2 separate regions of the Homo sapiens genome follow, and region 2 is linked to region 1. Evidence: promoter capture Hi-C in 16 types of primary human blood cells and fetal thymus (Javierre and others, 2016). All regions are on one chromosome and are shown on one strand. Each heading gives the region's core, a stretch centred on a gene start or on the middle of the fragment in contact. The rest is flanking DNA. Distances are from core to core; before and after follow the strand shown. Region 1 holds the start of FAM241A (family with sequence similarity 241 member A). Region 2 overlaps ELOVL6 (ELOVL fatty acid elongase 6).

Region 1 (6,170 bases), core at 2,447-4,946:
ATTTGGGGTAGTTTCCACAAATAACTGCATTTGTTTTTCTAAGATTGTATTACCAATTGAGTCCAGAACTCTCTGATTTGCTCGTTTCTCCCTCTGGAAAGATGCACAAATGAAATAAGAATAGAGGAACATTAAAAATAATAAAGGCATGAAAGTGAAGGATTAAAAGTCCTTGTTCCCATAGCAACTGCACCAGCCACATTTGCACTAGACAGGCCATTCCTTAGACGTGCATCTGTTTCTTGCACTTATTTATTTCTGGGAAAGCACAAAACACACTAATAAAATCACAACAAAACTCCATATGATTTGACTTTGGGAGGCCAAGGTAGGCGGATCACCTGAGCGCAGGAGTTCGAGACCAGCCTGGCTAACATGGCAAAATCCCATCTTTACAAAGATACAAAAATTAGCCTGGCATGGTGGCACACACCTGCAGTCCCAGCTACTTAGAGAGCTGAGGCAGGGCAGGAGGATCGCCTGAGCCTGGGAGGTGGAGGTTGCAGTAAGCTGTGATCATGCTACTGCACTGCAGCCTGGGTGGAAGAGCGACACTCTGCCAAAACACACACACACACACACACACACACAAACAAAAAAAAAAACCACTACATATGATTTGAGACCAACATGTTATAGTTGCCTAGGTAATAACAATCTTATATTTCCCATGGGAAACTGGCAGTGCTAGCTTTATGTGTATATTTTTCACATTGTGCAGCAGAGTGAAAACAGCCCTCTCCTCCCATAAGATTAGGCTGTAATCTGTTTAATGTCTTTTGTGTAAAATGCTAGATTTATTTAAAGAGGTGGTTCTCCAGATCTCCAGGAAAAATCAGACTCTATGAACAAAAGAATAACAGCTTAAAGAAAAACTCACTCACTAAATTAAAGGTAAATGATATTAAGAAAAAAAAAAAAGGTTCTGCCTTCAGTCCTAGGTGGAGATCCAAGGATTCTGGCTACTCTTCGGTAAAAGTTCTTGGTTTCTGCCAAGAAAATAACACAAGAATTGGATTAAAATGAAGCTTCATGAGAATAGGGACCTAGACCTGGGCCAAACGCCTAGTAGTGTTCAATAAGAGAATAGGGACCTAGACCTGGGCCTAAAGCCTAGTAGCGTTCAATAAATACCTACTAAAAAACTGAATTAATACACTTCTCAAAGACTCAAGAAGCCGGAATCTACAAAAGACCAGACAGTATACTCTAAAGGAATTTTGTAAGACTTGTCCCCTAAGCTGAACAAAGCTAACCTCTGTATTGTACCTGCCCAGCTATATAAATACTCTGTGCCTTCTGAGTCCTCTTATATATAAGGAATTTCTGCTCACTGTAGCCTGATTGAAGAGTGCATAGTTGTTTGGCTTATCAAGTTGCCAATCAAACGCTATGAGGGAGAACTTCAAAATGTGCCTTAGTTCATGGGGTTGGCAGTAAAGAGCTGATGTTCTCTGGGTTGCTGTATATAATTCCAAAGTTTTATCCAAAAAAGTTGATTTTTATTTTTTTATTTTTTTGAGACGGAGTCTTGCTCTGTCACCAGGCTGGAGTGTAGTGGCGTGATCTTGGCTCACTGCAACCTCTGCCTCCCGGGTTCAACTGATTCTCCTGCCTCAGCCTCCCTAGTAGCTGGGACTACAGGCATGTGCCACCACACCCAGCTAGTTTTTGTATTTGTAGTAGAGATGGGGTTTCACCATGTTGGCCAGGATGGTCTCCATCTCTTGACCTTGTGATTCGCCTGCCTCGGCCTCCCAAAGTGCTGGGATTACAGGCGTGAGCCACCACGCCCAGCCAAAAAAAAAAAAAGTTGGTTTTTATAAGAAACACTACTAATAGCCAAACCAAAATTCCAAGAATGAAAATGTTGCCTTCAGGGGAAAAAAAATGAGGCCCATCAGAAAGGCTACTGGGTTCCCATGGTGATATTTGTTTCTGATTGTATGTATATAATATTAAATACTCTTTTCTGGAGTTTTAAAGACTTTTAAGAAAGGGAATGAACCAGATTCATTTTCTTTCTAATTTTTGATATCCAACGGCATATTTTCTGGCCCCTAGAGAGATTGTTTGTGGAGGAGAGACAATCAGAGAGGGCATGTGTGAGAAACCATGTGTGAGAGATGGTGTGTGCGCGAGGTTGTATATGTGTGAGAGAGACTGTATGTATGTGAAATCATGTGTGTATGAGAGAGATTGTGTGTATGAGAGATTGTGGGTGTGTGAGAAAGACTGAGAATCTCCTGACTACAAAAAACAGGAAACTTCTTTAAAATAAGCCTATGAGATTCTGCCTATTTTAATTCCTTCTCTGGGCCTGAAAACATTTTAATAGAAGATCCCAAATAACTCTTACTCTTCTCCATGTGTACACATGTTTACTTTCCATATTTACTTTTCTGTATTTTACCTGTACAATAACCCATCGTTTTCCCAATGTACAGATAAGGCATACACAGAAAAAAAAGTGATATTTTATTTAAACACCCTTCCATTTTCCTTGAATAAAATGGATGGAGTAGTACAAAAAATAATTATCAATTGGATATATTCCCCTCACCACCCACTGAGAAAGACATATTCTTACCCAGTTACAGAAAGATACATCATTTGATACACCATCAAACGACCCAAGGCTCCAACAAACAACACACACTAGGAAGCACTCAACAGAAAGGGACAAATACACAGACCTTCAGTGAGACACTAGGAAAGGAGGCTAAAGGAACAAGAGGGACAGTGAAATGTGTCTTCCTTGAAAAGGACGGGCAGATACTCAGGCAAGAACAGGGGTACTCTGCTGGAGAGTGTAACTGGGTGCATGTGTGTGTTTCTCTCTCACATACAAACCCACACACACTAATCTCTTATACAAATGCGCTCTCTCTTAAATATATGCACTGGCTCTCTCACACAAGTAATTTCTCTTTCACACTTGATCTCTCTCAGTTTCTGTTGTTCCCTCATACAATCTCTCTCTCACAGTCTCTTGCATACACATACAATCTCAATCTCTCTCTCTCTCTCTCTCTCTCTCTCTTTCCCCCCCCCCTCCTCTCTCTCTCTCTCTCTCTCTCTGAAACGGGGTCTGGTTCTGTCGCCCACGCTGGAGTGCAGTGGTGTGATCTCTGCTCACTGCAGCCTCGACTTCCCGCGCTGAGACGATCCTCCCACCTCAGCCTCCTGAGTAGCTGGGACCACACTGCCGCCACCACGCCCGCCTAATTCTATTTTTAGTAGAGATGGGGTTGCCCAGGCTGGTCTCCAACTCCTGGGCTCAAGCTATCTGCCCGCCTCGGCCTCCCAAAGTGCATACAATCTCTTATACGCAGTTTCTTTTATATAGAATCTCTCTCACACACACACACAAATCACGCTCAGCGTCTCTCTCACACTCTCTAACGGTCTCTTACGCACACACAATATCCCTCATACATACACACAGCCTCTCTCATGTACAATCTCCCTCATGCAGTGTATGTCCATAGTTTTTCACACAACACCCTTCTTCTCTCAGTCTGTCGGCCTCTCTCTCAATCTCACACACACACCCCCGCCCCCCAACACACCGTTGGCCCCGCCCCCTGTCTTGGCCCCTCCCCTGTACGGCTCCGCCCCGACGGCCGGGGGTTGGGCGAGCCAGTGACAGGAGGGGCCGGGCTGGTACTTCAGGCGCCCAGGCCGGCGGGGCGCGCTCCGGCGGCTCCTGTCAGCGGCGGGTGCGGCGGATCCCAGGGCAGCCTTCGGGCGGCGGCGCTGCCTGGTGCGTCGCGGCGTGGTCCTCCGGCGGCTGTCCGGGGCGGTAGGAGTTGGCTGCGGGATGTGCTCAGCCGGGGAGCTGCTGCGGGGCGGCGACGGCGGGGAACGCGACGAGGACGGGGACGCGCTGGCGGAGCGGGAGGCGGCAGGGACCGGGTGGGATCCCGGGGCGAGCCCGCGGCGGCGCGGACAGCGGCCGAAGGAGAGCGAGCAGGTGAGCGCGGGGAGGGGCGGCGGCGAAGCGGCCGGGTCGGGGGCCGCGAGCCCCGCCCGGCGTTGGAGGGAAGGGGCCCGGCCCGCGGGCCGCGCCGCAGCTCTGCCCCGCGTGGGCACTGGCTCCCCGGCGCTCTGGGAAGTCGTCGCCGGGAGCGGTTAGACGGCGCTCCCAGGAGGAGCGGCGGGGTCGCGCGAGTGCAGACGCCAGCGCCGGCCCCGGGGTCGCGTGTCTGGCGGGGTCAGCGTGGTTCGTCCCCTGGCGTCCGGCAGAGGATTCTCAGGCTGGCGCCCAGGGCTCGGAGGAAATGCCCTCCATAGCGGTGATTTATTTAAAAGCCTCACTTGTAAACACTTCTTTTTCAACTTCGAGTCCGTGCCCTGCGCCAGGTTTAGGAGACGCCGGCTCCCCTCCCGCCCTCCATCTTGCGTTTCCGAGCCCACACCTAGCGTGTCTGGAAGGTGTGGGTGGATTCCGTCCACGGGCAGCGCTGAAAGCATGAGTAGGAGCGGGTGTTACAATGAATGTCTTGACAGGGACTCTCCCAGAGCACGTTCTTCATAAATACAGATGAGATCAAAGCTTCAGTTAAAAAGTGGAGAGGCAAGAATATTGCTTTCGGTTATAAGAGGCCAGCCATAGTAAGGGAAAAGAGAAGTTGCGTAATTTTTTAAACTCTCTGAGTTTATCTCATTTAAATAAAGTGTGATAATGGGCATTATAACATCAAATATCTTAAAGATTAGGCAAAAGGTTTAATTTTAAAAATTGAATTGTATGTTGGATGAATTTTCTACAGCAAATACAGTATTTAGACTTTCCAAATACCTGAGGTAAGCCGCTCTTTAGACTCACATTAAGGAGCAGGAATTCAAATGATTATTGGCCTTTATTACAGCCTGTACTGTTAGGACAATTAATACCTGTCTCTCCTCATCTTTCTTCATCTGTCCTTTCTGTCACGTTTCACAAATTCCAGTATCATCACTAAATGCATTAATAGATGTATACCTTACATTGTTTCAATAGGTTACTTAGGAAACAGAGTAATACTGTGTGGCACACAAAATATGCCTTAGCGTTAGGTTTGATCACCACGTGGAGTGTAATTTTTCATCTGTGACAATATAAGAGAAAGTGACTCAAGCAAATAATTTGGTAGCTTGTTCTTCGGATTCCCTTCCTAGTGGTTTTTCCCGTTAACTATTCATTTGCTCAAGGGCTTGATTTCCTCTAACTTAAATTGCTTAACTGGAAAAGTGAAGAAGACAGCACAAGAATTCCTTTGGGGGTGGGGAGGGGTTGCATTTGAGCAGGGGTTTCCAAAGTAAATTTTCAAATAGTTGTAAGGGAGCATATAAAAATACTTCATTTAAGCTTCTGTGTACTTCATTAGTATGATTATGTAGACATCACTAATAGTTGTGGTCTTTCCAAAATTGCTTATGGTACAAAGTAAAAGGATAAAACAAAAAATGAAAAGTACATCTTAGAAAACATATCACTTTGCATACCTGCCTCCTTCATTGAATGTCATGAAAGTTCATTCTCCTGTACTCCTTTGAAGTGTTATTTTTATCATTCTGTTTTTGCCTCAAGATTTATTAATGTATTCTAAGCCCCCATACACAATAATTGAAAATCACACCGGAGATAGGCATTTCCTACTACATTAGCACCAAAGAAGAATTAGTCAAGAAGACAAAAATAAGCAAAAAATTGGTGCAACCCAACCCATTGTTGTAAAAAGCAAGCTTTTCTGATAAAACGTTTCTTGGTAATGTTATCACAAAGCCTTGTTTTCTAGTTTTTTTCAAGTTCTGTAAATGAAATTATGCATTGCCATGTAATGATGGTAGAAATAGTATTACATGTGTAAAGATATTTGAGGAAGAAATGAAATTAACAACTATGGAACATATCCCAAGGACTCATTTTATTTAGTTTTTATTTAGGGAGATGATTTTTGTTTGTCCTGTTGGTTGGTTTAAGGATACAAGGACTCCAGATTACAAATGGAATATTTTTGAAAGATTGGTTTCTAAGTTAATGATTTAGAACTTAAGGTGAACTTTTCCATGAAAACAATGATATAAACAGGAACAGAACCAAAACTAATTAGCTGGAAATGAGACAGAGGCCATCTTCCTGCCGTCTTTTCTACTTGGCACGCTCACTTCGTGTTCCGGAGTCA
Region 2 (5,594 bases), core at 2,558-5,057, 2.0 Mb before region 1:
CTAAAACCACAGATACCTGACACGTTTCCAGTGCAGCCAAGTTTTCAAGTGCATTGTTTTTCTGATTGAATATTATATTAATATTCAAATAAGAGGATGATTGGGGCCTTGTGACACACCCCTCATCATCACACCAGCCATCCAAGCCTTATTCAAGCCTGGAACCCAGTTTTCCTTTTCTGATTCCTACATGCAAATCCCAACTCCCCTTCCTGAGTTGTCCATCGTGCAAAAGATCATAAAGGGTGGCTGCAAGGGTTTAACAGTTAAAGTACGTAAAACATTGGCCAGGCGCGGTGGCTCATGACTGTTATCCCAGCACTTTGGGAGGCCGAGGTGGGAGGATCACCTGAGGTTAGGAGTTCGAGACCAGCCTGACCAACATGGAAGAAACCCCATCTCTACTAAATATACAAAAAAAATTAGCCAGGCATGGTGGCGTATGCCTGTAATCCCAGCTACTCAAGAGGCTGAGGCGGAGAGTTGCTTGAACCTGGGAGGCAGAGGTTGCGGTGAGTCGAGATCATGCCATTGCACTCCACTGGGCAACAAGAGTGAAACTCGGTCTCAAAAAAAAAAAAAAAAGTAAAACATTATAAAAGGATGCCTGCAATCAGGTAACCATGTATTAACTGTTAGTATCATTGCTCCTGAATGAAGAAAATCTACCCTGCTGTCTAGGTGTGGTGGTTTACACCTGTAATCCTAGCACTTTGGGAAGCTGAGATGGGAGGATCACTTGAGGCCAACAGTTCAAAACCAGCCTGGGCAACATAGCAAGACCCCCATCTCTCCAATACAATAAAAAAATTAGTTGGGCAAGGTGGTGCGTGCCTGTAATCCCAGCTACTTGGGAGGCTGAGGCAAGAAGATCGCTTGGACCAAGAAGCGGAGTTTGAGATTACAGTGAAGTATGATTGTGACACTGCACTCCAGCCTGGGTGACAAGCAAGACCCTGTCTCTATTTAAAAAAGAGAGAGAGAGGCTAGACGCAGTGGCTCACGCCTGTAGTCCCAAAACTTTGGGAGGCCGAGGTGGGCGGATCACTTGAGGCCAGGAGTTCGAGACCAGCCTGGCCAACATGGTGAAACCCCGTCTCTGCTAAAAATACAAAAATTAGGCAGGTGTGGTGGCAGGTGCCTGTAATCCCAGCTACTCAGAAGGCTGAGGCAGGGGAACTGCTTGAACCCAGAAGGTGGGAGTTGCAGTGAACTAACAGCCAAGATCATGCCACTGCACTCAGACTGGGAGACACAGCAAGACTCTGTCTCAAAAAAAAAAAAAAAAAAAAAAGAGAGAGAGAGAGAGAAAAGAAGAAAATGAAGTTATACTTGTTTACTTGTTTCACTTTAAATAGGATTATAGGGCTTGGCGCAGTGGCTCACACCTGTAATCCCAGCACTTTGGGAGGCCGAGGTGGGCAGATCACAAGGTCAGGAGATCGAGACCATCCTGGCTAACACAGTGAAACCCCGTCTCTACTAAAAATAGAAAAATTAGCCAGGTGTGATTGTGGGCGCCTGTAGTCCCAGCTACTCGGGAGGCTGAGGCAGGAGAATGGTGTGAACCCGGGAGGCAGAGCTTGCACTGAGCCGAGATCATGCCACTGCACTCCAGCCTGGGCGACAGAGCCAGACTCCATCTCAAAAAAAAAAAAAAATTGGATTATAAACCTCATGTGTGTTTTGAGGAGGTAGATCTCCCTCCCCAAAATATATTTCATCAATAAAACTTTCCTTATATCACAACTAGGAACTCTTCTATAAAAGTTTTAGCAAGAAAAAAAAAACTGAAATATGAATCCCTGTAAATAAAAGTATTACAAAACTATGAGTGATTTTCTAGCAAAACTACTTACAATCAGCATGTCTAATTTATCTCAGCAAATTTATCTTAGCAAAGGTAAGTGTAAGTCTTTTTTCTCCTGTACTTTTTTTTTGTACAAAGTAAAGACTTAAAGTTAAATCTCAGTAAGTTCACAGTGGGCAACTAACTCAGCAAAGGGTTTCCTAGTAATAGGAACCTTAAAACTAAAAGTCGCAAACACTCAATGCAGAAAGGAATCATGATAAATGTGTAGGCTTGACCTTAGATGACTGACATGGTTCCAAGCTTTGGGATAACTATTGCACAACCAACTTAAAATTACAAATTCATATTCTTTACTCTTGGGCAATACTTTTTTTGTTTTGTTTTGTTTTGAGACGGAGTCTCACTCTGTTGCCCAGGCTGGAGTGCAATGGTGCAATCTCGCCTCACTGGAACCTCGGCCTCCTGGGTTCAAGCGATTCTCCTGCCTCAGCCCCTGGAGTAGCTGGGATTACAGGCGCCCGCCACCACGCCCGGCTAATTTTTGTAGTTTTAGTAGAAATAGGGTTTCACCATGTTGGCCAGGCTGGTCTCGAACTCCTGACCTCAAGTGATCCACCCACCTCAGCCTCCCACAGCGCTGGGATTACAAGTATAAGCCACCATGCCCGGCCACTTTTTTTTTTTTCAATTTTTGTGTTTTTTTTGAGACACAGTTTTGCTCTGTTGCCCAAGCTGCATTGCAGTGGCATAATCTCAGCTCACTGCAACCTCCGCCTCCAGGTTCATGCCATTCTTGTGTCTCAGCATCCAGAGTAGCTGGGACTACAGGTGCGTACCACCATGACCAGCTAATTTTTGTATTTTTTGTAGAGACAGGGTTTCGCCACTTTGACCAGGCTGGTCTCGAACTCCTGACATCAAGTGATCCGCCTGCCTCGGCCTCCCAAAGTGCTGGGATTACAGGTGTGAGCCACCATACCCGACCCATACAATACTTTTTAAAAAAGGACCCATGTATCTCTAAAATAAATTATTGGAGGGTAAATATAATTAGAGATGCTGGGTTTTTTTAAAGTTCTCAGAAACCTCAATAACTATGCCAACATTTGTACCTGCCTGAATACATGTACAATCAGAATCTGGATAAAGGAATGAAGTTATGAGTTTTAACATTACAATATAGCCAAGTCATAGTTTCACTCAGATTACCTAGGGTTATCAACAGAAATGACATATGTGGTACAGGTAACTTTCCCTAAACCCTCCTAAAAAAGATAAATGAGAAGTAAATGGGAGCGGGTGGATGTGAGCTACATAAAGAGTAAAGGGAGGGCTGAGGCAAACTTTGTAGAATGATGTCTGGTTCCTATTAATAAAGGACAGTTTGGCTCACCTGTGTCCATATGTGAAAAATTAAGTTAATCATTAAGACAATGTTTGGTTAACTCATTTCAGAAAATAAAATACTTGGACCTGAAATATTTCAGATCACTTAAGCCAAGATAAATTCCTGAATTGCCAGAATGGTGCCACACTCATTTTACTTTGTTGTCTAAAGACTGATTAGATGGGGGGCCGGGCACCTGTAATCCCACCTACTCAGGAGGCTGAGGCTTGAACCCAGGAAGCAGAGGTTGCAGTGAGCCAAGACCAGGCTCAAAAAAAAGAAAAGAAAAAGAAAATTGATTAGATGGTTATTGTATATCCCCCTAAGTATTTCAAAACCTCCGTCCCCCTCATAACTCTTCCACTATCTAAGCTGAAAGATTCCTCTGGCCGGGCATGGTGGCTCACACCTGTAATCCCAGCACTTTGGGAGGCCGAGGTAGGTGGATCACCTGAAGTCAGGAGTTCGAGACCAGCCTGACTAACATGGTGAAAACTCGTTTCTACTAAATACAAAAAAATCAGCCGGGTGTAGTGGCGCATGCCTGTAAACCCAGCTACTCAGGAGGTTGAGGTAGGAGAATCACTTGAACCCAGGAGGCAGAGGTTGCAGTAAGCCGAGATGGAACAATTGCACTCCAGCCTGGGCAACAAGGGCAAAACTCCATCCAAGAAAAAAAAAAAAAAGAAAGAAAGAAAAAAAAGAAAAAGAAAGATTCTTCTTTCAAGGAAGTATATAAGGCAACTCTTAGATATGGAATAAGTTGACTTTGAAGTTTCCAGCCATTTTTCTTACAAATGCACGCAGAAGGTTACGAGGAAGATTTCAGGAAGAAATTTAAAGCAATCCTCACTAAAGGAAAAACAACAGTGAAATACTATGTCTGCATTTGAAAAGTTTCATTAAGTTCCAATGTTATACACTTTGACACATTTAGAATCACCCTCAAACAAAAAAGCAACAGGCAATCCTCTGAAGATCACAAAATTTTACTTCCAATGTGAAAAAGACTTCATGAAAAAATTTTAAGCACTAATTATAACTAGTACAAATACACAGATGGATAATATAATCATAAAATATTTTGCATTAAGCTGGCTTTCATCCTTTGGAATCCTAAACAAGAATTGCATGAATATTTATAATTTATTAAAAGATACATGAAAGTTCATATCAAAGCTCCAGCACAACTTTACATTATTTTCTAGGACCCCACACAGATTACACGTTTTTTCTCTATGTATTTTCTCATTCTTCTCACTCTTAACCTAGTACATATGCCTACATCCCAGTGCTTTCTAAAAATTATTGAATGTCATGTTATGATCCTCACACAAGTTTTAATCCTAAATCAATATGAACTGTGATACCTCAAAATAAACAGCAAGTGACATGAGTACAATATAGACACACTATATTCCTACAGAGCTGACCAAATTTGTTGCTGCAATGTTAATGATGAAATGAAACTCTGGCCTACTCTGTTCCATAGTCACAGATGCACTGTTTTCCAGCCATTTTTCTTACAAATGAATGTAGAAGGTTGCAAGGAAGACTTCAGGAAGCAATTCAAAGCAATCCTCACTAAATGAAAAACAACAGCCAAATACTATGTCTGCATTTGAACAGTTTCATTAACATTATGCTGCTATATTTTTTATGCTGCTATATTTGAGTTAAATGCTAACACAGGTTTTTAGTGCTTTTTATGTTCTTTAATCATGAAATTGTACATCGTGTTACTTTCCAAACTTCACCTACAAAAAAGATATAGATGTACAACTCCTTTTAAAATGTTTCACGGCCGGTTGCAGTGGCTCAAGCCTGTTATCTCAGCACTTTCGGAGGCCGAGGTGGGCGGATTACTTGAGGTCAGGAGTTCAAGACCAACCTGACCAACACGGTGAATTCCCATCTCTACTAAAAATACAAAAATTAGCTTGGTGTCATGGCAGGCACCTGTAATCCCAGCTGCTTGGGAGGTTGAGACATAAGAATCACTGGAACCCGGAGGCAGAGGTTGCAGTGAGCCAAGATTGTGCCACTGCACTCCAGCCTGGGCAACAGAGTGAGACCCTGTCTCAAAAATAAAACAAAATAAAATAAAATGTTTCACTCCATTTTTACCTTTGGTAAAAACAAATTTGTGAATAAAAAGGCTTCCTCAGCTGAACAGCATTTAATTCTTAAAATTCCTATACTATCTTATAGACTCTATAATACAGAATACAAAATGTTAAAACAAGTAAACCCTTTTACACCACCAAGGGAGTGAGTGGGGAGAAAAGTCAGAAAAATATATAAAGCTTTGAAAGGCTGGATGTGTGGAGAATGCCAGGAGAGGGGGAGGGTTTCATGAAGTTCTAGGCAAGCCCTTTGAAGACGTCACCTCAC

The links. The method cuts DNA at HindIII sites, captures the fragments that hold promoters and counts their contacts. A CHiCAGO score of 5 or more calls a contact.
Region 2: a contact is called between a fragment that was not itself captured here and the fragment with the promoter of FAM241A in region 1, in 1 of 17 cell types (fetal thymus). The highest score is 6.8, in fetal thymus.

Annotation. Positions count from the first base shown.
Region 1 is chr4:112,141,758-112,147,927 of GRCh38, forward strand. FAM241A (family with sequence similarity 241 member A) reads left to right here and starts at 3,697. Exons shown (of 2, transcript NM_152400.3): 1 at 3,697-3,976. The coding sequence starts at 3,824. RefSeq lists a silencer at 3,478-4,127 and an enhancer at 4,468-4,607. The HindIII fragment of the contact is 3,530 bases long and covers 1,027-4,556 here.
Region 2 is chr4:110,188,321-110,193,914 of GRCh38, forward strand. All of the region lies in intron 1 of ELOVL6 (ELOVL fatty acid elongase 6), which reads right to left. Among named protein-coding and RNA genes, the nearest start is that of ELOVL6, 7.5 kb to the right of the region's middle. The HindIII fragment of the contact is 3,393 bases long and covers 2,112-5,504 here.